Regions from separate parts of the Homo sapiens genome. Here all the other regions are linked to region 1. Evidence: promoter capture Hi-C in 16 types of primary human blood cells and fetal thymus (Javierre and others, 2016). All regions are on one chromosome and are shown on one strand. The core of a region is centred on a gene start or on the middle of the fragment in contact, and the rest is flanking DNA. Distances in the headings are between cores, read along the strand shown.

Evidence for each region. The method cuts DNA at HindIII sites, captures the fragments that hold promoters and counts their contacts. A CHiCAGO score of 5 or more calls a contact.
Region 2: a fragment that was not itself captured here is called in contact with the fragment with the promoter of SGK2 in region 1 in 3 of 17 cell types (monocytes, endothelial precursors and total CD8 T cells); the score reaches 6.7 in monocytes.
Region 3: a contact is called between a fragment that was not itself captured here and the fragment with the promoter of SGK2 in region 1, in 3 of 17 cell types (naive CD8 T cells, total CD8 T cells and fetal thymus). The highest score is 6.0, in naive CD8 T cells.
Region 4: a fragment that was not itself captured here is called in contact with the fragment with the promoter of SGK2 in region 1 in 1 of 17 cell types (naive CD8 T cells); the score reaches 5.5 in naive CD8 T cells.
Region 5: a fragment that was not itself captured here is called in contact with the fragment with the promoter of SGK2 in region 1 in 1 of 17 cell types (M0 macrophages); the score reaches 5.1 in M0 macrophages.
Region 6: a fragment that was not itself captured here is called in contact with the fragment with the promoter of SGK2 in region 1 in 14 of 17 cell types (M1 macrophages, endothelial precursors, activated CD4 T cells and 11 more); the score reaches 9.8 in M1 macrophages.
Region 7: a fragment that was not itself captured here is called in contact with the fragment with the promoter of SGK2 in region 1 in 4 of 17 cell types (M1 macrophages, endothelial precursors, M0 macrophages and 1 more); the score reaches 9.5 in M1 macrophages.

What each region holds. Positions count from the first base shown.
Region 1 is chr20:43,557,364-43,560,419 of GRCh38, reverse strand. It overlaps SGK2 (serum/glucocorticoid regulated kinase 2), which reads right to left and starts at 1,393. Exons shown (of 13, transcript NM_170693.3): 1 at 1,261-1,393. The HindIII fragment of the contact is 1,890 bases long and covers 244-2,133 here.
Region 2 is chr20:44,193,925-44,196,980 of GRCh38, reverse strand. It overlaps OSER1 (oxidative stress responsive serine rich 1), which reads left to right. Exons shown (of 4, transcript NM_016470.8): 4 at 1-1,042. Among named protein-coding and RNA genes, the nearest start is that of JPH2, 8.3 kb to the right of the region's middle. The HindIII fragment of the contact is 833 bases long and covers 1,150-1,982 here.
Region 3 is chr20:44,169,213-44,172,268 of GRCh38, reverse strand. All of the region lies in intron 1 of JPH2 (junctophilin 2), which reads left to right. Among named protein-coding and RNA genes, the nearest start is that of JPH2, 16 kb to the left of the region's middle. The HindIII fragment of the contact is 6,904 bases long and covers 1-3,056 here.
Region 4 is chr20:44,138,429-44,141,484 of GRCh38, reverse strand. All of the region lies in intron 2 of JPH2 (junctophilin 2), which reads left to right. Among named protein-coding and RNA genes, the nearest start is that of JPH2, 47 kb to the left of the region's middle. The HindIII fragment of the contact is 8,658 bases long and covers 1-3,056 here.
Region 5 is chr20:44,120,323-44,123,378 of GRCh38, reverse strand. All of the region lies in intron 2 of JPH2 (junctophilin 2), which reads left to right. Among named protein-coding and RNA genes, the nearest start is that of JPH2, 65 kb to the left of the region's middle. The HindIII fragment of the contact is 603 bases long and covers 1,359-1,961 here.
Region 6 is chr20:44,098,962-44,102,017 of GRCh38, reverse strand. No RefSeq gene overlaps it. Among named protein-coding and RNA genes, the nearest start is that of JPH2, 87 kb to the left of the region's middle. The HindIII fragment of the contact is 3,805 bases long and covers 1-3,056 here.
Region 7 is chr20:44,079,417-44,082,472 of GRCh38, reverse strand. No RefSeq gene overlaps it. Among named protein-coding and RNA genes, the nearest start is that of JPH2, 110 kb to the left of the region's middle. The HindIII fragment of the contact is 6,228 bases long and covers 1-3,056 here.

The DNA of each region.
Region 1 (3,056 bases), core at 144-2,643:
TCAAGCAATTCTCCTGTCTCAGCCTCCCAAATAGCTGGGATTACGGGCATGTGTCACGACGCTCGGCTAATTTTTGTATTTTTAGTCGAGACGAGGTTCCACCATGTTGGCTAGGCTGGTCTCAAACTCCTGACCTCAGGTGATCCGCCTGCCTCGGCCTCCCAAAGTGTTAGGATTACGGGTGTGAGCCACTGTACCCGGCCGGTTATTTTAACTTTTATCTTTGTACTATTGTGTAAAGCTTCTCAAGATATTGCTGTTGAGTTAATATTCAAGTACTGAGTTCCTGGTGGGAACCTGGCATGCCCATGGCCCATCACACCCTCCCCCATCACCTTGACTGTGACCCCCATGCCTAAGCAGCCCTCAGTTCCTAAGGCTTTCTTCTCTCTCGCACCACGGTGTTCTAATTTTCTGGCCAGAAGCTGGACATCAATATATTCTCCTAACTCTTCAGACTCCGCAAACTCCCACTCAAGCCCCTCCATGAGTCCTCAAGCCTGTCCCTTTCCTAACTTGCCACAGCCCAGACTTGCCTCCCTCTGTCCCACTGTTACATGGACCTGCTTACAGCTCCCTGGCCCTGCCAAATGGGGTGTGGGGGTGGGACAGTGTCACACAGTTCTCTCTCCTTGGAACATTCCCCAACAAACCTGGTCTTTCCAGCTCACCTTTTCACCTGTTCTCATTGCCTTTCCTGGAAGCCAGATGACCCTCCGATCCCATGCACCCTCTCCTGCTGCTGTCCCTGTCTTCACTGTAACTTGTTCATTTACACGCCTGCCCAGTTCAAGTGCCAACTTGATCTTATTTTGTTCCCACAACCCCACGGGTTAGGAACTATCATCGTCCCTGTTTCAAGGAGGAGAAAACTGAGGCAAGGACAGGGAAGTGACATGATCAAGACAGTTAATAAATGACATAACCAGGATTTGAACCCAGGCCATCTGACTGCAAAGCCCACGGCCTGGAATTTCAGGAAGACAATAGAAAGCTAGAAAAGGAAAAAATGAAGTCAGTGGGAAGGAAGTGAGGATGTAAGTTGGTTAGTTAAGGAGGAAGAAAATTAGGCAGCTGAGAAAGCAGATAGTTGGGAGGGAAGGAAGGAAAGGAAGGAGGGAGAAGGGAAAGAAGTCGCCAAGGAAGAAAGGAAGGAAAGAAAGTAAACAGGTACTAGGAAAGATGTTAGCTAGGTAACTAGTCAATCTGGAGACCAATAGGCGAGCAGGCAGGTATCCTGCTCACAGGTGAGCCTCTCACCTGAAAACTCCAGGTTCCTGCTCAGGTCCTGGGGAGCAGCCCCATGCACGGCTCTGCCCTCTTCTCTCTCTTCATGGTCCTTCTGACTGGAGGCACAATCCTGACTTGTCAAGCAACCTTCCCAGTCAGGAATGACCTGTCACCCACTCGCTCCTGGCTCCCAAACCGGCTCAAGTTCAACCTCCCAGCCCTGCCTGCTGGAAGCTGGCTTCGGGGCCTTCCAGTTACTAATTAACCACTGGACCTGAATTACCAAGCTGGCTGCACACACTGGCTCCTGGATGGGCCCTGCCTGGGGGACTCTCTGAATTTTTTAAAGCACAACTTGTTATGTGACCATGGGCAACTGACTTCAGCTCCCTGAGCCTCATGTGAATTGGTGACGGATGGTGTGTCCTGCTGGAGGGACGGTTTCTGAAGTCCCTTTCAACACTGGAACTGCCGCACTCTCTCAAGGTCCAGCTTAAGTGCTGACTCCTACACAGCCTTCCCTGATTCCCTCCGCTGAGTCATCTTCCCTTTCGCTTGGAACCTAGTGAACCAGCAACTGAAAGGTTGGTCTCACACAACACCCTCCTCCACCCCTTCCCTAATGGGGGCCACCAGCCCCTATGTTCAGTCATTTCATGGAAACTTCCAGGACTGGGCAGCTCATTTCCCCCTGAGCCAGCCTCTGGCAATTTCTTGTGTTAAGCCGAAGACTGCCACCCACAGCCTACCCGACCAAGCACTGCCCTGGCACCGTTCTGGGAGAATCACAGCTGAGTTGAAACCTATGCCCCACTCTGCCCTTCAGAGATTTGAGGCTCAGGAACCAGAGATGAGTTCACCCTGGAGAACAGGGAAGGCTTTCTCGGGGGTTGACCCAAAGCTTCCCAGGCCCTGGGTTCTTTTTTTTTTTTCTTTGAGACAGAGTCTCGCTCTGTCACCCAGGCTGGAGTGCAGTGGCGTGATCTCAGCTCACTGCAAGCTCCGCCTCCCAGGTTCACGCCATTCTCCGGCCTCAACCTCCCGAGTAGCTGGGACTACAGGCGCCCACCACCACGCCCAGCTAATTTTTGTATTTTTAGTAGAGATGGGGTTTCACTGCATTAGCCAGGACGGTATCGATCTCCTGACCTTGTGATCTGCCCGCCTCGGCCTCCCAAAGTGCTGGGATTACAGGCGTGAGCCACCGCGCCTGGCCGGCCCTGGGTTCTAACTCAGGGCACAGGCAGGGCCTGGACCCCTGGACAGGTAAGGAAAGCTCTGCCCAGTGACCCCTCCTGAGCAGGCTGACTTTCACACTGCTTCCTCCATTGCCTTTCCATTAAAATGTCAACAACTTTCTGGTAATTCTGGTGCCTTAAACACCGGCTGCTCTGCTGTGCTCCGGAGGAGCCCTGCATGGCCACACACCCCACCTCCACCAACACACATAGCAGCATGTGTCTGGCCCTGGTCCAGATAGGGGAGGTAGCTGGCCCAAGTGCACAGAGCAAATCAGGGCAGCGCACAAGGTCCTGCCCTTTCCAGAGCTCCTGCTGCTGCTGCTGCTGTGCCACCAAGCTCCCTCTCCTCTGCTCTTCCAGAGCTGCTTAAAAAACCCCCAAACACGCCACATACTGGTATTGGTTGCATAAAGTGTATCAAATAATTCCAACTTACAGAAGAATGTCAAATAAAAAGTAAAAGCTTTCCCTCCAGCCCATCTTCAATCTCATTTCCAGAGGCAGCTGCTGTTAACTAAAGGGTGACAATCCGGCTGGGCGCCATGGCTAATGCCTGTAATCCCAGCACTTTGGGAGGCTGAGGTG
Region 2 (3,056 bases), core at 317-2,816, 640 kb before region 1:
TGTGGCCACTTTGTGTGAGAAGACATCTCTTTCTGCTCACTGTGCTTGCAATAAAAACTTTTCTTGGCATCTCAGTTAATCTTCATTCTTTCAACTTACTCTCTTGAGTTCTTACATACACTTCAAGGCGAGCAGATCAAAGAAAAATCCCCCTTATTTAGAAATGTTCCTGGGGGATGAAGAAACCATAATTACTTGAGACTGGCAGCAGTGGGTATATGGTAAAAGCCTTTGTAAAACAGTGCATTTTTCAGATTTGTTTAAGGTTTGCTAGCCAAGGAAAGTAAAATGTGATTTTGTAACTGCACTAAACATTTGTCATGCTGTAGTTGCCAGCCCAGAATATTAGAAGTTACAAGACTGATTTAAACCGTCTCTGATTTAATGCAAGATATATTGTGTCTATAAAGGTTTCTCTTGTTATTGTTAAGCCAGAGATCTAAGGTTTAGATTCAATTTGAATAAACTAGCTGGCCTGCCCTCTATTGTTTGAGAGAGTTATTAACCATCACTAAATAAGCCCCTGCTGGTGCTATTCATCCTAAGACATGTTACATGCAGTTTCAAGTAAGCAGCTTGGAATGGGCTGCTTCAGTTGGAGGGAGGGGGTGTAATATTTGAAACGAGTGTGTGTCTTCACCATCTCCAGCATTTTAAATATATGGCGGTTTTTTTTTTTTTTTTTTGTTATCAGTTGTAATACAGGTCTCATACCTCAGTTTCAGATGTTATAGATGGTTACCTCTTTGAGCTGCCCTGTCACCCCAGCAACCCTAAAAGAGAATTTTGTACATTCTGTATCCCACAGATTTGGTCAGCCATTTCAAAATTCCCTCCAGTTTGGTAAAAAAAAAATCTGTCTTCGGTTTCAGCTGGATGATGAATCCTTGTTTTTCAGGTGGCTCCAAAAAGAATGTTGCATGTGTTCAGACCATCCTGAGCAGAGCCACCAAATTTAGTGACAGTGTCTAGCCATGTTAGCAATAATGTTAACAGAAGCTTTTGTTTAAATTACAAAATACATTTATACTATTTACTAAAACTGCGCTGGCTGTGGTTGATTCATGATAATGGGATGTGGGCTTCAACAAATAGGTGATTTGTACTTGGGGGAGAGGGGAAGGGTGTTTACTAGAAAAACCCTAAGCTTAAGTAGTAGTGGGAGTCCTCTGCTGGTCATTGGTTTGGTGTGGATTTAGTGACATCTGAAGGCTGTGGTTAAAGCAAGGGAGCAAAATACCTTATCACAGTTCTAGAAGCTGTGACAGATATTTCCTGATAATGGTGACAGAAGGTACACTATTTAGTATATCTAAGGCAGAAATTCTCAAACTTTTTGTAAGCACTTCCTTTACACTGACAAATTCAGGACCCAAAAGGTTTTGTTATAATCTCCAAAAGGATATAAATATTTACCATGTTAGAAATTAAAACTAAGATTTTTTTAAATATTTAAAAACTCATTACAAGCTAACAAAATTTTTGAATGAAAAATAGCTTTTCCAAAACAAAAAATAGAAGAGTGGCATTGTTCTACCTTTTTGCAAATCTTTTTTAATGTTTGGCTTAATTAGAAGACAGATTCTCATATGTTTCTGCATTCAGTCTCTGGGATATCGCATATTGTGTGGTCTCTGGCAAACTTTTGTACACTTGGGAGAATGAATGTGAAAAAGGCAACTACAGGTTGAATATTCCTTATATGAAATGCTTGGGACCAGAAGTGTTTCGGATCTCAGATTTTTTTTAGATTTTGAAAGATTTGCATTACATGCTTATCAGTTCAGCTTCCATAATCCTAAAAGCCAAACTGCTCCAATGAGCATGTCCTTTGCTCCTCATGTCAGTGCTCAAAAAGTTCTGGATTTTGAAGCATTTCAGATTAGGGACCCTCAACCTGTAATGTTTTAGTACCATGTAAATAATTTTGACCTCAGATTTCCTAAAAGGGCCTCAGGGATTCCAGGACCAAAATTTAAGCTTCTGGTTGTAAAGGTACCACCCCGCTTTCACCTCCACAACTAATGTTTTGGCTCACCTTTAAAAAAATTAAAACTGGGCCGGGCACGGTGGCTCACGCCTTTAATCCCAGCACTTTGGGAGGCCGAGGCGGGCGGAACACAAGGTCAGGAGATCGAGACCATCCTGGCTAACGCGGTGAAACCCCGTCTCTACTAAAAATACAAAAAATTAGCCGGGCGTGGTGGCTGGCGCCTGTAGTCCCAGCTGCTCAGAGGCTGAGGCAGGAGAATGGTGTGAACCCAGGAGGCGGAGCTTGCAGTGAGCCAAGATTGCGCCACTGCACTCCAGCCTGGGCAACAGAGCGAGACTCCGTCTCAAAAATAAAATAAAAGCTGTAGAGGAGTGGAGCTATTGTAATTAAGTAGTGAGCTATTCAAGTTCATGTTAAGTGGGCTTAACATGGGCTTAACATGTTCTTTGAATTAAGGCGAGTTCTTAAGCCTTTAAATCCCTTTTAGTTTGTTTTTCAAGCCAGCGCTCTGGTTATTTACTTAGTGCTGTATATTAGTGCAGCAGTCACCAGAGAATGATGATACGTATTCTTTTCATATGAAGGTGTTAGGAGGGTGTAAGTATTGAAAAGCACAAAGTTCCAATGACCTAGTAACTCAAAATCCAACTTGCATGAAAGTTTAGGCATTCCAGATTTGTGGGAATAAGTTGTAAGTTATCTACATCTCAGCAAAATCTTCCTCAAAACATGAATCTTGAAGTTAAAAATTACTCTGCTCAGACCTAATTGGCCCAACTTTAACATTAGGGTCCCTCATTGGGATATTTGACGTTCTTTTGTGAATGTGATGTACCAAACTAATCTCCTTTCTCTGATACATCTAGGAAAATGGATTTGGTTTGTGGATTGAGGGATTAAGTCTCACTCTGATGTTCCAAAAAAGTAACATCCTGATTTCCACATGCCTTTATTTAACAAGTTTTCATTGAACGTTCATTCATTCATTCATTCATTCATTCATTCAATAAATATCAAGTGCTTACAACACACCAGGGACACTGTACTAGATTCTGGGAATGGA
Region 3 (3,056 bases), core at 286-2,785, 610 kb before region 1:
CCCCAATTTAGGGTGATCAGCCATCTCAATTTGCCTGAAACTGCCCGGTATTAGCACTGAAAGTTCCACATCCCAGGAAACCTCTCAGACATAGGCAAACTGGGATGACTGGTCACCCTACAGTCTTTTCCCATGAAGTGAAAGGAGCCAACCTTTGTTGAGAGCCCGAGATCTCTGCTAGATAAACCATGTAATACAGCAACCTTGCAAAGGAAACTTGCTATGCTCACTTTACTGAGAGGAGACAGACTCAAAGAGACCTTATTCAAAGCCTGTGCTTATTAATGCATTTGACAGTATCTGTTGAATGTCTTCCATGTGTGAGTCCCTGCATGGAGTGCTGGGGATGCTGTGGTGGGCGAGTCAGACCTGTCCCTGCCCCCAAGTGCATGTATCTTAACAGCAGAGACCGGCATCTAACAATTACTTAAATACAAAATGTGATACATATTTTGAAGGAAAAATAGAAGAATTTATGAACTGATAACAGGGAAACCTGGTCTGGTCTGATAATCAGAGAAGGCGTCCTTGAGGAAGTGATGTTTGAGCTGAGATATGCAGGATGAATAGAGGTAAACTGGGTGACAGGGGAGGCCGCACAGGCAGGCAGAAGGGACAGCAAATGCAAAGGCTTGGAGGTGGGACCTGAGCATGCTGTGTTCCAGAAAAGGCTGGAGCACAGACTCAGAGAGAGAGAGTGGGGTGGACGAGGCTGGAGAGATTGGCAAAGCCCAGATCATGAGGGTTTTGTGGGTCACAGTGAGGAGCTTGAACTTCATCCTTCTAGTAGATTCTAGGCTACCCCTTCAGACACTCCTTAGGACCAGGGACACATTCCCCGAGCTGCCAGGAGTGTTAGCAGCTGACAGATCCTGGCTGGGTATTTCTCTCCAACAAAGGGAGCTGCCTCCTTCACATCTAATGACTGTAATGACCTGGCCCCCTTGCTTTGATTTTGGGCAACGCTGAAGGGCTATACCAGCTTAAATCCCCCTGGGATCAGTTGAATATTCTGTTGCAGATGTTCAGCTTCCTCCACTGCCAAATCCTGCTTCCTTCCTTACACGTGCTCTTCCTGAGAGCACTCCCCGCTAAATCTCCCACACATCATCTCAGCTTCAGAATCTTTTCCCTAGGGATCCTGACCTGAGACACTCCTCAAGGCACTGGGAAGTTACTGCAGGGTTTTGAGATGGGGAGTAACCTGCTGAGAGTTGCATCTTATGAAGAAGATGAGTGGCAGCAGCAAAGGGTCAACTGAAGTGGGGGGCAGGGAGGATACTACTGTCATCATCGAGGGAGAAAAGGATGTGGCTTGGACTAGACAGATAGGGTGGAGACCAAGAGAATTAAGGAGTATCGCAGTGCGTCATCATGAGAGTCATTTAAATTCTTAGTTTCAGTTTTTCCAATTGTAACATCGAAATGATGATGCCTGTATCTGTTAGGATACTTTCTTATCTATTCATTTTAACAATATATTGAGCAAAATTAAAGAGATATTCAGAGTCAGGTCTATCTGAAGACCATGTGATTTCCATTATTCTTTGCTACCTCCAAAGCTGTCTTAGCCCTGGCTTACTTTCTCTGGGATGCTGGGTCCATAGTCTTTATCAAGGTGGGTTAGAGCCAAGCTATGAGTCCCTTATAATCAGGAGCATCTGTGTGGTGTCTGTGGCATGGGCATGTGTGCTGACCACAGTGAGCATTTCTGGTTCACCTGGTCTGATCTTGGTATGCTTGGACAAGAGCCATTAACCCCTGGACTCTCTGATGCTCACTCTGTATCTGCCATGCTCCATCTTAAACACTGTCTGAAATTTGTTGATGACACTTCTATGGGCCACCCAAAGATCTTATGCCAACATCTGGTACTATGTGAGAGGACTTGGAGAAGGATCAGCGATGGCTGGTAGACAAAACAGGCAAGATAAAGACAAGAGAGCTGCCATGGGAAGTAAGAAGTGATAAATGTCTTGGGCAATGAGAATTTGGAGGAAGGAAGGTGGTTCCCTGAAGGAGGTGGTTTGAAACTGGGCTATGAAGGATTTGGGAAGACAAGGCTGAGAAAGTGACTTGGAACCAGGTCATGAAGGAACTGGACTATCAGGTAAGGACTTCTATAGGCAATGGGGACTCCTAGAAAGGAGCTAGTCCTCGTTCCTTCTCTCCATCTCTGTTCAGTTCTCCAGTGTGTTAGTCTGCTTTCTGTTACTTATAACAGAATACCTGAAACTGTGTAGTTTATAAGAAACAAAATGTATTTCCTAGAGTTCTGGAGGCTAGGCAGTCCAAGGTCAAGGGGTCATATCAGGAGTGGCATTCTTACTGGTGGAGACTCTCTGCAGAGTCCCAAGGTGGCACAGGGTGTCATGTGATGAGAGGGCCGAGTGTGCTAGCTCAGATCTCTCTTCCTCTTCTTATAAAGCCACCAGCCCCACTCCCATAACCAATTAAACCATGAATCCATGAGTGGATTAATCACCTCTTAAAGGCCCCACCTCTCAATACTGCCACATTGGGGATTAAGTTTCAATTTGAGCTTTTTAGGGGGACAAACATTAAACCGTAGCACCGAGGCACACTGATCTTCCAACCTCAGATAGTTCCCTGGAAATAGGAAGGTGTCACTGGCCAGATGGGATGGTGTTCTCAGTGTCCATTCTGTATTTGGAGGCAGAATCCTGGTCTGGCCCATATGTCTCTTTGATGTCTCAAACTGGATTCTGGATCTCCCAGCTTTTCCTTGGTGTCTTAGTCAATTTTGTGTTGCTGTAAAAGAATACCTGAGGGCCAGGCGTGGTGGCTCATGCCTGTAATCCCAGCACTTTGGGAGGCCAAGGCAGGCGGATCATGAGGTCAGGAGTTCGAGACTAGCCTGGCCAATACAGTGAAAAACCCCGTCTCTACTAAAACTACAAAAAATTAGCTGGGCATGGTGGCAGGAACCTGTAGTCCCAGCTACTTGGGAGGCTGAGGCAGGAGAATTGCTTAAACCCAGGAGGCGGTGGTTGCAGTGAGCCAAGATCACACTACTGCACTCCAGCCTGGGCAAC
Region 4 (3,056 bases), core at 301-2,800, 580 kb before region 1:
TCTTTTTCTCACATGATGTGATCAGAGAGGCTGTGCTAGGCTGAATGGCAGCTCCATGATGCCCTCAGGGACCCGCCTCCATCTGCCTTTCCCTCCCTCTGTCCTTAGAGGGTGGCTTTTGTCCTCACACTCAGAAATAGCCACTGCACACCTAGCCTCACCTCTGCATTCCAGGCAGCGGAGGTCCAAATGCAACAGCTTCTCTCCATGCAGAAGTGAAGACCTTCCCCAGATGTAGAGAATGGGAAGGTGAATATTTTTAGCCGGATGCGTTGCTTCCCTGAACAAATTAGGCTTCCGTTAGTGGGAAAGAGGGAGAGAATGGATATTTGGTGAGCAGCTAGCAATGTCTGTCTCAACATCCTTGCAGAGGTTTGAAGACTGTGACCTTAATATCCCGAGTCTTCCCTGGTCACCACATCTCTAGCCCCTTCACTGCACCTCTGTTTTCATGTCTCCTCCTTCTCCATCTTTCAGATGGAGAGACAGAGGCACAAACATCATTCACGGTCAAGAGCACAGGCTTTGGGGTTAGATAACACTCGTTCCTTGGGCATGTCACTTTCCTGAGCCTCAGTTTCTCCAACGGTGGGAGGTGGTAGAAATTGATATAGTACTTACCACTGAGGGTAAAATGAGATATAACCTGTGTAAATACTGTACACCACAGTCATTCAATAGTGGCAGCTTAAAAAAATTATTCTACGATTACCCTTGCTTCAGTGATTCTTCTTGGTGTTATTGAAGGGTGAGATCTCGGTGGGGATCTCCCAGGTGTTTCCATAATCCCAGCGATCACCCCAGGGAGAACCTCTTTCCTTAGGCTGCTAGAGGACATGTGCCATAGGACCAGATAGGAGGGAGGGGCAGCGGTGGGAATGCGTTTTCAGAGCTACCTTTGGCCAAGCCGTATCCTTGTGGGGACCTATTGCATTGCTGCTGAAGTGCTTTTCCCATCAGCCCTGGCTTCGTGTGGCCCTGTCTGGCAAGGGGGTGCTCCTACAAAGTCATGGCAGCCTGGTGCCAAAACCATCATCCCATAGGACCTGCTGTAGCTTTGCCAGAAGCCTGGCCCAAGGGGTGGAGGCCCCTGGAGCTCTGACCCACCACGTGGAGGGTGGGAAATGCCACAGAGCAGGTTCTCTAGAAGGGATTTGTCAGAAGCTAAACTGGGGTGCCCCCTGGGCTCAGGCCTGCACAGTTTCTCCCTGACCACCCAGCTGGGATGGATATAAAGACAGGTGTCATGTTGCAGAAAGCCTGCCCTAAGAGGCCCTACTGGTGTTTTCCTTTATTAAAAAAAAATAAAATCTCGGCCAGGCGCAGTGGCTCATGCCTGTAATCCTAGCACTTTGGGAGGCCGAGGCGGGCAGATCACGAGGTCAGGAGATTGAGACCAGCCTGCCTAACACGGTGAAACCCCATCTCTACTAAAAATACAGAAAATTAGCTGGGCAAGGTGGCACGCGCCTGTAGTCCCAGCTACTCGGGAGGCTGAGGCAGGAGAATCACTTGAACCCAGGAGGCAGAGGTTGCAGTGAGCCAAGATTGCACCACTGCACTCCAGCCTGGGTGACAGAGTGAGACTCTGTATTAAAAAAAAAATCATACATTCATTTGGTTCAAAACCCAACAGTTAGAAAAGTATTACTATAAAGAGTCCATCTCCTTTTCCTGTCCCCATCTTGTTGCCACCTCCATAGGCAACTCTTGTTTGTAGTTTCTTTCCTTTCCTTCCAGTTACTTTCTATTAAGATGGAAAATATGAAATTGCTAATATTTGACCAGGTTTGGCCTATAAAATGGCAATTTCATACTGTTCAACCTAATATAAACAAATGTATAGATTCCTGTTCTTCTCTTTCTTACACAAAAAGTAGCATATTATACTGTAGCATATACATACTGTTTGGAATCTTGCTTTTTTTTCTTTGCTGTGTATATATTGGAGATCTATTCATGTTTTTCCAAGTACAGAACTTGATCAGTTTCTAAATGCTTGTGTAGAATTCCATTATATAGCTGTGCCACAATTTACTGAATCAGGTCCCCATTGTTGTACATGGATGTTTGGGTAGTTTCCAGATATTTGCTGTGTTAGATCAATATTTCCACCCATGGGTTGGTATATCTCTAGAATAAATTCCCCCAACTCGCAGTTGCTGGATCAAAGGCTCTCTGTGGTGGCTGTCCCATTTTATCTTCCCGTCCACATTGTTTTAGGGTGGGAAGGCCTCTGCCACTGACTTGCTGAATGACCCCGGGCAAGTCCCTGCCCCTCTGTGGTTCTCCATTTCCTGGAGCACTGAGCTCTCCTTGCCTTGTCCTTGGGGGGAAAAAAGCCGGCCCAGATTCACTTCCTTGCTTGGCCTTTCCCACGTCCCAGTCATGGGCAGCTATTGTTACTGTGGATCCTTTGGGAGATGACTTTAGCTCAGAGGGAGTCCAGGGCAGCCCAGTGAGGTCAGCATGGAAGAGCAAACAGGAGGACGAGGCGAGGCAAAGGCACAGCGGTGTGGCAGCTGGGGCAAGGCAGCGATTGCCAAATGCCAGTCACTGCCATACCTTCCTGAGCCGCGCCGTGTCCACATGCTGTCTGGATCCCCTTACTATTTAAAAAACATTTTAACTTTCTTAAATCTAAATTTATTCTTATAAAGAAACTTTAGATCATTACCATAAATACAAATCTAGTATTAGATTAGAAAAAGTTAGCCAAAAAAAAGAAAAAGAAGAAGAAAAAGAATACAGTGAAGCAAAATATCATTAAACCCCATCCCTCAGTTGCTTATTAAAATCTTGGCCAGGTGCAGTGGCTCATGCCTGTAATCCCAGCACTTTGAGGGGGCCAAGGCAGGAGAATTGCTTGAGGCCAGGAGTTTGAGACCAGCCTGGGCAATATGGTGAGAACCCATCTCTACAAAAAAATAAAAAAATTAGCTGGGTGTGGCAGTGCTCACCTGTAGTCCCAGGTGCTGTTCGGGAGACTGAGGCAGGAAGATAGCTTGAGCCCAGGAAGTTGAGGCTTCAGGGAGCCATGATCACACTACTGCACT
Region 5 (3,056 bases), core at 411-2,910, 560 kb before region 1:
CCATGGGAAGGGGTGCAGGAGGAGTGGCAGAGGGTTCTAAGAGTTATAAAGGGAGCCGGAGAGACCAGTGTTGGTGATTGATGGGCTGTGGATGTGGAAGGAGGTGGGGAGGGAGGGTGCTGAAGAACACCGGGATTCCTGGCCTGAAGGCTGGGATCAGAGATTGGGAGCATGGGACAGGGGAGAAGGGCTGATAGGATGCAGCGGGCCGGGTGGTTGGAGATGGACAGGGAGTATGCTTGCTTCCAGCACAGCAGCCCTCATTGCCCTGGGCTGTGTGGCCGCCCCTGTTCTGGCTGTGCACAGTGGGTCCCCCAGAATCTTCCAGGGCTGTGGGGAGAGGCTGCCTTTCCTGCCTGAGGAGTCCTCAACCCAGCTTCCAAAGGCACCAGAAAGTGGGCATCTTTCTGCTCACATGACCAAAAAAAGGGCATTTTCTCAGTTTGAAGGCTTGCCCAGCCCTTTCCCTCCTCCTCCCTCCTGGGGTTTCATGTGCCCAGAGAAGTGGCTCTAAAAAGTTTAGAACTTTGTCTCACACATACTCACGTGCAGGCAAAAATAAGCCTGGGGATATGCATGTAGCACACTCAGTTTTGATGTACAGATGTCATTCTCCTCCTCCTCTTTCACCACCGCCACCAACACCCCATCATCGTCATCATCAAGACCAAACACTTTCACGCGTTGCCTCTCACTTAGTTTTCACGGCAACTTCAGGAGGGGAGAATTACTATCTCCACTTTACAGATGAAGAAACTGAGGCACAGAGAGGTAAAGCCATGCATGCACCCAAGGTCCTAGACTCCCAGTGGGGTGAGGTGAGTGAGTAAGTGAGGGATCCAAGTGCAGGGTCCAATCCAGGCTTTATTTAAAATTTTCTTCATAGGTTGTTCATCAAGGATTTATTTTTGCATTAATTTAGACTTTTAAAATATTGCATTAAAATGTGATTCCTCTTGATCACTGAGTTTTTTGGCAACCCCATAAATTTTGCCCCTGAGGCGAGTGCCTCGGTCATCTCATTCTGTCCCTGGCCTTGGCAGAGCCCAAATTGGAATCCAGGCCTGTTAATTCTAAAACTGTGTGCTCTTAACTCTTCCCTAGGCTGTCTCCTTGCCCCTACATATGTGCACGCCTGCATGCGTGCCTTCAGCCATGTATTCATTCAGTAAGCATTACTATGGCAATATGGCATAGTGGAGAGGCAGGGGCTTGGACATCAGACAGCTCCAGGTTTAGAATCTTACTCTGCTGCTTGTTATTGAATGGAAATTGAGCCTGTGGTTAGGATACAGACTCTAGATCCCAGAATGCTTTGGTTTGAATCCTTACTCTGGTACTTACTAGCTATGTAAGCTTGGGTGAATTCTTTTTTTCTTTCTGAGATGCAGTCTTGCTCAGTTGCCCAGGCTGGAGTGCAATGGTGTGATAATAGCTCACTGCAGCCTCGATCTCCTGGGCTCAAGCAATCCCCCCGCTGACCTCAGCCTCCTGAGTAGCTGGGACTACAGGTGTGCGCCACCACACCTGGCTAATTTTTTTTTTTTAATTGTTAGTAGAGACAAGGTCTTGGTATGTTGCTTAGGCTGGTCTTGAACTCCTGAGCTCAAGTGATCTTCCTGCCTCAGCCTCCCAAAGTGCTGGGATTACAAGCACGAGCCACCATGCTGGCTTGGGTTCTTTAGAATACTCCTTTGCCTTGGATGTCTCCTCTGTAGAGAGGGATGATAGGAATAACATCTACCCTGTAGAGTTATTGGGGGGTTAAGTTAATTTCTGTAAAGCCCTTGGCATATACTAAGTGCTTTGTAAATGTTAACTCCTATTTTGTTTCCTTGAGCAAGACACCTTTCTGAACCTCAGTTTCCCCACCTGTGAAGTAGGGACCGGTAAACACTACCTCACTACCTCACAGTTTTGAGGTTTGTAAGGGATAAAAGCCCTGGTGCCTAGTAGAAGCTTAAGGGAATTTATCCCCCTTACCGTGCGCCCAGTTCTCTGCTGTAGACTGAGATAAAGACACACACACATCAGCTCCCCAGGGAATTAACTCATCTGTAGAGAGTGGACACTCTGACTTGGCTTTGCAGCTCCTCGAAGGCACAAAGCTCTTCCTCAGTCTCAGAGTCTTTGCACATGCCCTTCTGTCTACCTGGCTCATTGACCCGCCCACCTCTTAGGGGCCTAACGTATGTGTTTCTTCAAGTCTCAACTCAAATGTCAACTTCCTCAAGGAATCCTTTCCTGACCAGCCCACCTCCACCACCCATCAACATTAAGTCTTTCTGTCCTGCATTTTCATTGTATTCTCTACTCCTCCTTCACGGCATATTTCACAATTATAATTAGGTACTTTTTATTTAATTGCATTTTATTAAATAGTTTTTGTGTCTGTTTACTAGCCAGCTCCCTCATCTGACAGTAGCCTTTCTGGTCCACAGAGTCTCTGTCCTCAGTTCCTGGCCATGCTCAGCTCCTGGCACAGGCTCTGGCACATGCTCAGCTACTGGTATAGAGCAAGCTTGTCTAACCCTTGCCCATGGGCCCCATGCAGCCCAGGACAGCTTTGAATGTGGCCCAACACGAATTCGTAAACTCTATTAAAATGTTATGGGATTTTTTTTGTGATTTGTTTTTTTTAAGCTTATCAGCTATCGTTAGTGTTAGTGTATTTTCTGTGTGGTCCATGACAATTCTTCTTCTTCTGGCCCATGGAAGCCAAAAGATTGGACACCACTGCCCTAGAGTTACGTTGCCTGGGTTCAAAATCCCAGTTCCTGCACTTCAGGACTCTGTGACCTTGGGCAAATTGCTTAACCTGTTTGCACTTCAATTTTCTTTTCTGTAAAATAGGGATAATAATAACAGCACCAGCTTCCTAAGGCATTAGAATGAGCATATGAGATAATCTTCATAACTCCTTTAGAACCATGCCTGGCCCATTAGGAAATTGGACTGTTATTACTTTAGTAGGTACTTCTGTGAGTTAAGCTAAGCTGACAGCTGAAACAGACATCTCCCAAATCTCAGGTACTTAAGACAATGAATATTTAAAA
Region 6 (3,056 bases), core at 217-2,716, 540 kb before region 1:
AAGTTGATTCCATGTCTTTGCTATTGTGGATAGTGCTGCAATGAACATATATGTGCATGTGTCTTTATGGTAGAATGATTTATATATATGCCTTTGGGTATGTATCCAATAATAGGATTGCTGGGTTGAATAGTACTTCTGTTTTAAGTTCTTTGACAAGTCGCCAAACTGCTTTCCACAATGGCTGAACTAATTTACATTCCCACCAGCAGTGTATAAGTATTCTCTTTTCTCTGCAACCTCTCCAGCATCTGTTATTTTTTGACTTTTTAATAATAACCATTCTGATTGGTGTGAAATGGTATCTCATTGTGGTTTTGATTTACATTTCTCTAGTGATTAGTAATGGTGAGCATTTTTTCATATGCTTGCTGGCCATGTGTATGTCTTCTTTTGAAAAATGTTCATATCTTTTGCCCACTTTTTAACGGGGTTGTTTTTTGCTTGTTAATTTGTTTAAGTTCCGTATAGTTTCTGGATATTAGACTTTTGTTGGAGGTATAGTTTGCAGATATTTTCTCCCATTCTGTAGGTTTTCCATTTACTCTGTTGACAATATCTTTTTGCTGTACAGAGCTCTTTAGTTTGATTAGGTCCCATTTGTCAATTTCTGTTTTTGTTGCAATTGTTTTTGGAGTCTTCAACATGAAATCTTTGCGAGAAGCTATGTACAGAATGATATTTCCCAGGTTATCTTCCTGGGTTTTTATAGTTTTAGGTTTTACATTTAAGTCTTTAATCCATCTTGAGTTGATTTTTGTATACAGTGTAAGAAAGGGGTCCAGTTTCAATCTTTTGCATACGATTAGTCAGTTATTCCAGCACCATTTATTCAATAGGGAGTCCTTTCCCCATTACTTATTCTTTTAGTTTTGTGAGTAAACTCTTCTTTTCTTTCCCTCTGAAGTCTTGTCAGATTTTCTCCTAAGATTCAGTCTTCAGAATTTAAACAGAGCATGTGTCTAAGGTGAGTTCTTTAGGAATTAATCCAGTCCTGGAAACAACGTGCTCTTTCGGTGTCAAAATTTGAGACTTCCGGCCAGGTGCAGTGGCTCGTGCCTCTAATCCCAGCACTTTGGGAGGTGGGCAGATCACTTGAGGTCAGGAGTTCGAGACCAGCCTGACCAACATTGTGAAACCCTATCTCTACTAAAAATGTGAAAATTAGCCAGGTGCGGTGGCATATTACAGGTGGTGCACCTGTAAACCCAGCTACTTGGAAATCTGAGGCAGAAGTGCTTGAACCTGGAGGCAGAGGTTGCAGTGAACCGAGATTGCACCACTGCACTCCAGCCTGGGTAACAGAGCAAGACCCTGTCTCAAAAAAAAAAAAAAAAAAATCAGTCTTCAGCTCATTGAACTTATCCTCTCAAATAGGATTAATTGTCCAACTCTTCTAATTCTGTATTTCCCTGCAGCCTGGATTCTCGTGGGGTGTTTTGCACCTGCCTCCTAAATGTCCTCCCTTCCCCTGGTCTACCTGTTCTTTCATCCCTATGAGGAGATGTCCTATCACTTACTATACCATGATTCCCATTTATTCCAGTCCAACTATTGGATATTTCTTTTAATTTTTCAAACATTTTACTTCCAGAAAGTCATCAAACCCAAATTGCATTTTCTTGAAAGTTCTTATTTATTTGTTATTAAAGTTTTCTCATCTCTTCCACTAACTCTTTCACCTTCTTTAGGAGTTAATTGTACAAATTGCCTTTCTTTTTCCTTTTGCTTTTTTATGCCAGGGTAGTTAATAGTGGAGGTAGTGAAAACCAACCACTTAAAAACTAACAAGCAGACACTAAGTCTTTTAAATGCATGATAACATGTAATCCTATCAACGATATAATTAGACAGACACTATCATCATCCCTATTATGCAGATGAGGAAACTGGTGGCCAGAAAATTTACATGATTTACCCCGAGTAATTTACCGTGACTCCAGGGCCCACCCTTTTAACCTCCACCCTCCATCCTCTATCTCTTGGTGGTAGAGAGGGTAATTACCTCCTCTCGTAACTATTTTCCTTTGCTATTCCTGGCCACTAGGTTCTCTGAGCTTTCTTATAGGTCACGACATAAAAGTGTTGATCAGGGCAAACTAGCAGCGAGCAGAACGCCCTGTGAGTGCTTATCTAACAAGCTGGCAACTTGCAAATATATCTAATATTCAGGAAAACTTTGTAGCTGCATTTAAAAACTCTCCCAGCTGCAGAGATTTGAGTCCTGCCTGCTTCAGGTCCATGGTATTGAGCCAAATAACGCCACACTCAGCAGACAGAAGACAGCCCTTTGTGAATATCAGAGGCTGGCAAAACATGGCTGGTGGGCAAAATCTGGCCCGATGTCTGATTTGTTTTTTTTTTTGGTCTTTGAGCTAAGAACAGTTTTTACATATGTATGTATGTATGTATGTATGTATGTATGTATGTATGTATGTATTTTTGAAACAGAGTATCACTCTGTCACCCAGGCTGGAGTGCAGTGGTGGGATCTTGGCTCACTGCAACCTCCAGCTCCCGGGTTCAAGCACTTCTCCTGCCCCAGCCTCCTGAGTAGCTGGGATCACAGGCATGAGTCATCATGCCCAGATAATTTTTGTATTTTTAGTAAAGACAGGGTTTCACCATGTTGGCCAGGCTGGTCTCGAACTCCTGGCCTCAAGTGATCCGCCCACCTTGGCCTCCCAAAGTACTGGGGTTAAAGGCATGAGCCACCATGCCCAGCTGGTTTTTACTGTTTTAAATGGTTAGGGTGGGAAACAAAGGAAGACTAGTTCATGATGTGAAAAATCATGTAAAATTCACATTTCAGTGTTATGAATAAAGTTCTATTGGCCCACAGCTATGCTCATTTAATGATGTATTTTCAACCTTCATATTGACAGATTGAACTGAGGCAGGAGAATAGGGTTTGGACCAGGCAACTTAAGGCCAATGTGTGCTGACTTCCTAAGGCTGGATCAAAAGGGAAACACTTGGGTCTGGGGGCAGGGACTCTAAGACCAATTAACACCCACTTCCAAAAGCTAAGCCAAAAGGAAAAACTCCATCTTGCC
Region 7 (3,056 bases), core at 403-2,902, 520 kb before region 1:
CAATCTAAAATGTGGGCATTTTAGAGGCTGTAAATTATACCTCAATTTAAAATGAAAAAAAAAATTAAGATCTTTTAAAAGCAAACATTAGCCAGGTCCTAGCTTTCCCAAGCCAAATGTCTGTCCATCTGTCAGTTATGACCAGTCACACATTTGGCCAGTGACATTTGTCAGGGTGGGTCAGAGTGTCAGTTTGATAATTCATGCTCATGTGATCAATCTGACAGTAGGGTAATGGGCTGGATCTTGGTCAGCAGCAGCCTCTTGGATTTGGAGGTGGAAGGGATGGCTTCCCATTGGGTAAACATTGCACCATGGTGAAGGGTCAGGCATTGGTCTGCCTGGTTCCCACCCAGGCTCCCCCGCTGTCAAGCTCTGTGACCTTCGGCAACTCACTCACCCTTCTGAGCCTCAGTTTTCTCATCTGTGAAATGTGAACAATCATTGCATCTATCACATGGGGTTGGCGAGATGATGAAATGAGCCAATGGGTCTGCAGTGCCCAGCAGAGGCCCCAGCACACGTGCTCTGGCAGTGGGATCTGTTATTCCTGTTTTTATTTCTCCATCTGGCGGCAGGAAAGGATACAAGTGGAGGCACCTTTCCTGTGTTTCCAGGCAGATGCTGCCGCTGTTTGCTGGAAGAAGAGCTCAGGACCTGGGGAGGAGGGGCAGGGCTGAGGAGGCCTGGGTGCGGGGAGCTTCCCCAGAGGGCCGTGGGAGAGGGGACCCTGCAGTCTGAGGTCAGGCCTGGCCTCTGGTTCTCTACCTCCTGGGGACAACTCAGCCAGCTTGAAGGCAGGGTCTCCCATCACAGGCAGGCAGGAAGCCAGCTCTGTAGGCCAGCAATGGCAAGTGGGCAGAAGGCTGTGACTGGGGCAGGGGTCCCAAACGGAGGTAATGACAGCACAAAGTGTCCCCCAGTCCCCTCCTCCTGTCAGGGAGGGGAGCAGCTGATAAACTCATGCTCATGTGGGTATTTGGAACTAATACAGTCACCCTTCTGGGGGAACTTCCGGTTTAAAAGAGAAGTCTGGATAGAGCAATGCATAACTCAAAGGAATATTTTGCTCCAGTGAATTTCAGGTGATACAGCAGATCTATTTTTCTGGTCAGGGGCTCCGGTCCAGAGTAACCCCTTCTCATTGCCACCCAATAAAAGAAAAAATAAGTAACAACTGGGGACCCACCTGTTTCACCTTCTCACAAGAGAGAAGGATGTTGGCAGTGTGGTGCTGCGGTGTTCTGAGTTCTGACATCATGCCAGGATCATCCTAGGATCGTAGCACTTAGTATGCAGTAAAGCCCTTAAAAGTGATATCATATTGTCTTGTTAAGTTGTCAGAGCCACTCCGTGGGGTTGTAGGTGTAGGGCAGTTGAATATGGAGGCTAAGCATGGAGGTGAATGACCTGTGTCACCTACTCGCAGATGGCAGAACTGGAGTCAAACCCATTGTCTGACCGTAAATTAGCCCTCTTGGCTCCTAATCATTCTGTTAGGCCTGCTACACTGCTCTGCAGTTCCTAATTATGACCACCAGGAGGCACCACCACTCCACACGTGAGTACTCTCCGCACTGTTCCTGAGAAGTGAAGGCTTAGAATCACGTCACTACTTTCTTATTTACCACAGTAATATTAATAGCTACTATTAACTTAGCACTTGCTATGTGTCAGGACTGCACTAAGCACTACATGCTTTATTTCATATATTTCTCACACATCTCTAACATTTGGACCAGACTGTTTCACAGAAACAGTGAAATTCAAAATCAGGTCTGTGTCTTCAAAGCCTGTCCTCTTAACCATATATCCTCAGTGGAGATCACCAACTAGATGCTTGGAGGCTGCATTTGGTCAGCAAACTTGGTTTTGTTGGTTGGTTTGTGTTTGGTTGGTTTTTTTTTGTTTTGTTTTGTTTTTTGGCTGGGATGGTGTTCCAACACGCATTGAATTTAAATGCTTTTTGGCAGGGCAGTCCCTCTCCACTTAGCCCCAGTCCTCATCACTCTCTCTCATATGTCCGTCCCTCTGTCTCCTTCCTTTGCTTATGTTATCTGCCTGACCCTGACGTCACTGGAATTTGCAGCTTGTGGTTGTGAGTTCGTCGACTCCCTTTATACTAATAATATATTGTAGATGGGAGTCAAGGGATTCCAGGGCAGCTTGGAGGTTTAGGAAGGCACCCAGGAAATGTAACAAATGGTGTGGCCAAGAGTCACTGTGGAGATGCGGGAGGCAGTCCTGTCCTTCAGTGTCCTCCCAGGACCTATCAGTAAGTGTCCCTTGTGCTGTGTCAGCATAGCGTGCATGGCACCTGCAAAGACCTGTGGATTTCCTGGGCTGGACGGTGGTGAGCTGGAGGTGGAGCATGCCGCGTTTCGACTTTGCAATACCCTCCCAGAAGAGTGACCTGGCTACTGTGCACTCACACAGAATCCTTCCTGATTTGCGTCTGTTTCCTTTCACCTGGCCCATGAACCAGTGGTTAGATTTAACCAGCACCGTGGGGTTTCTAATCATTATTGAGCACCCCATCTACAGGGACTGAACTGTGTTCCCCCAAACTCACATGTTGAAGTTCGAACCCCCGGTGCCTCAGAATATGACTGTATTTGGAGACGGGGCCTTTAAAGAGGTGATTACGTTAAAAATGAGGCCATTAGGATGGGCCCTAATTCAACCTACCAGGTGTTCTCAAAGAAGACGAGACTCAGACATGCAGAGAGACCCCAGAGGTGGACAGGCGCAGAGGGATGGCCATGTGAGGACACAGAAGGTGGTCATCTAGAGAGGCCTCAGAAGAAACAAAGCCTGCTAGCACCTTGACCTTTGACTCCCAGTCTCCAGAACAGTGAGAAAATTAATTTCTGTTGTTTAAACCATTTCTGTTGTTATGGCAGCCCAGGCTGACTAATATGCTGTCCATCAAAGGTGGGCGGAGTTGAGGATGTAAGTGTGGTCAACAGCCGGCCTCGCAGGGCACTGTAGCTCATGCATGTGATCCCAGCACTTTGGGAGGCCGAGACGGGAGGATCGCTTGAGCTCAGGAGTTC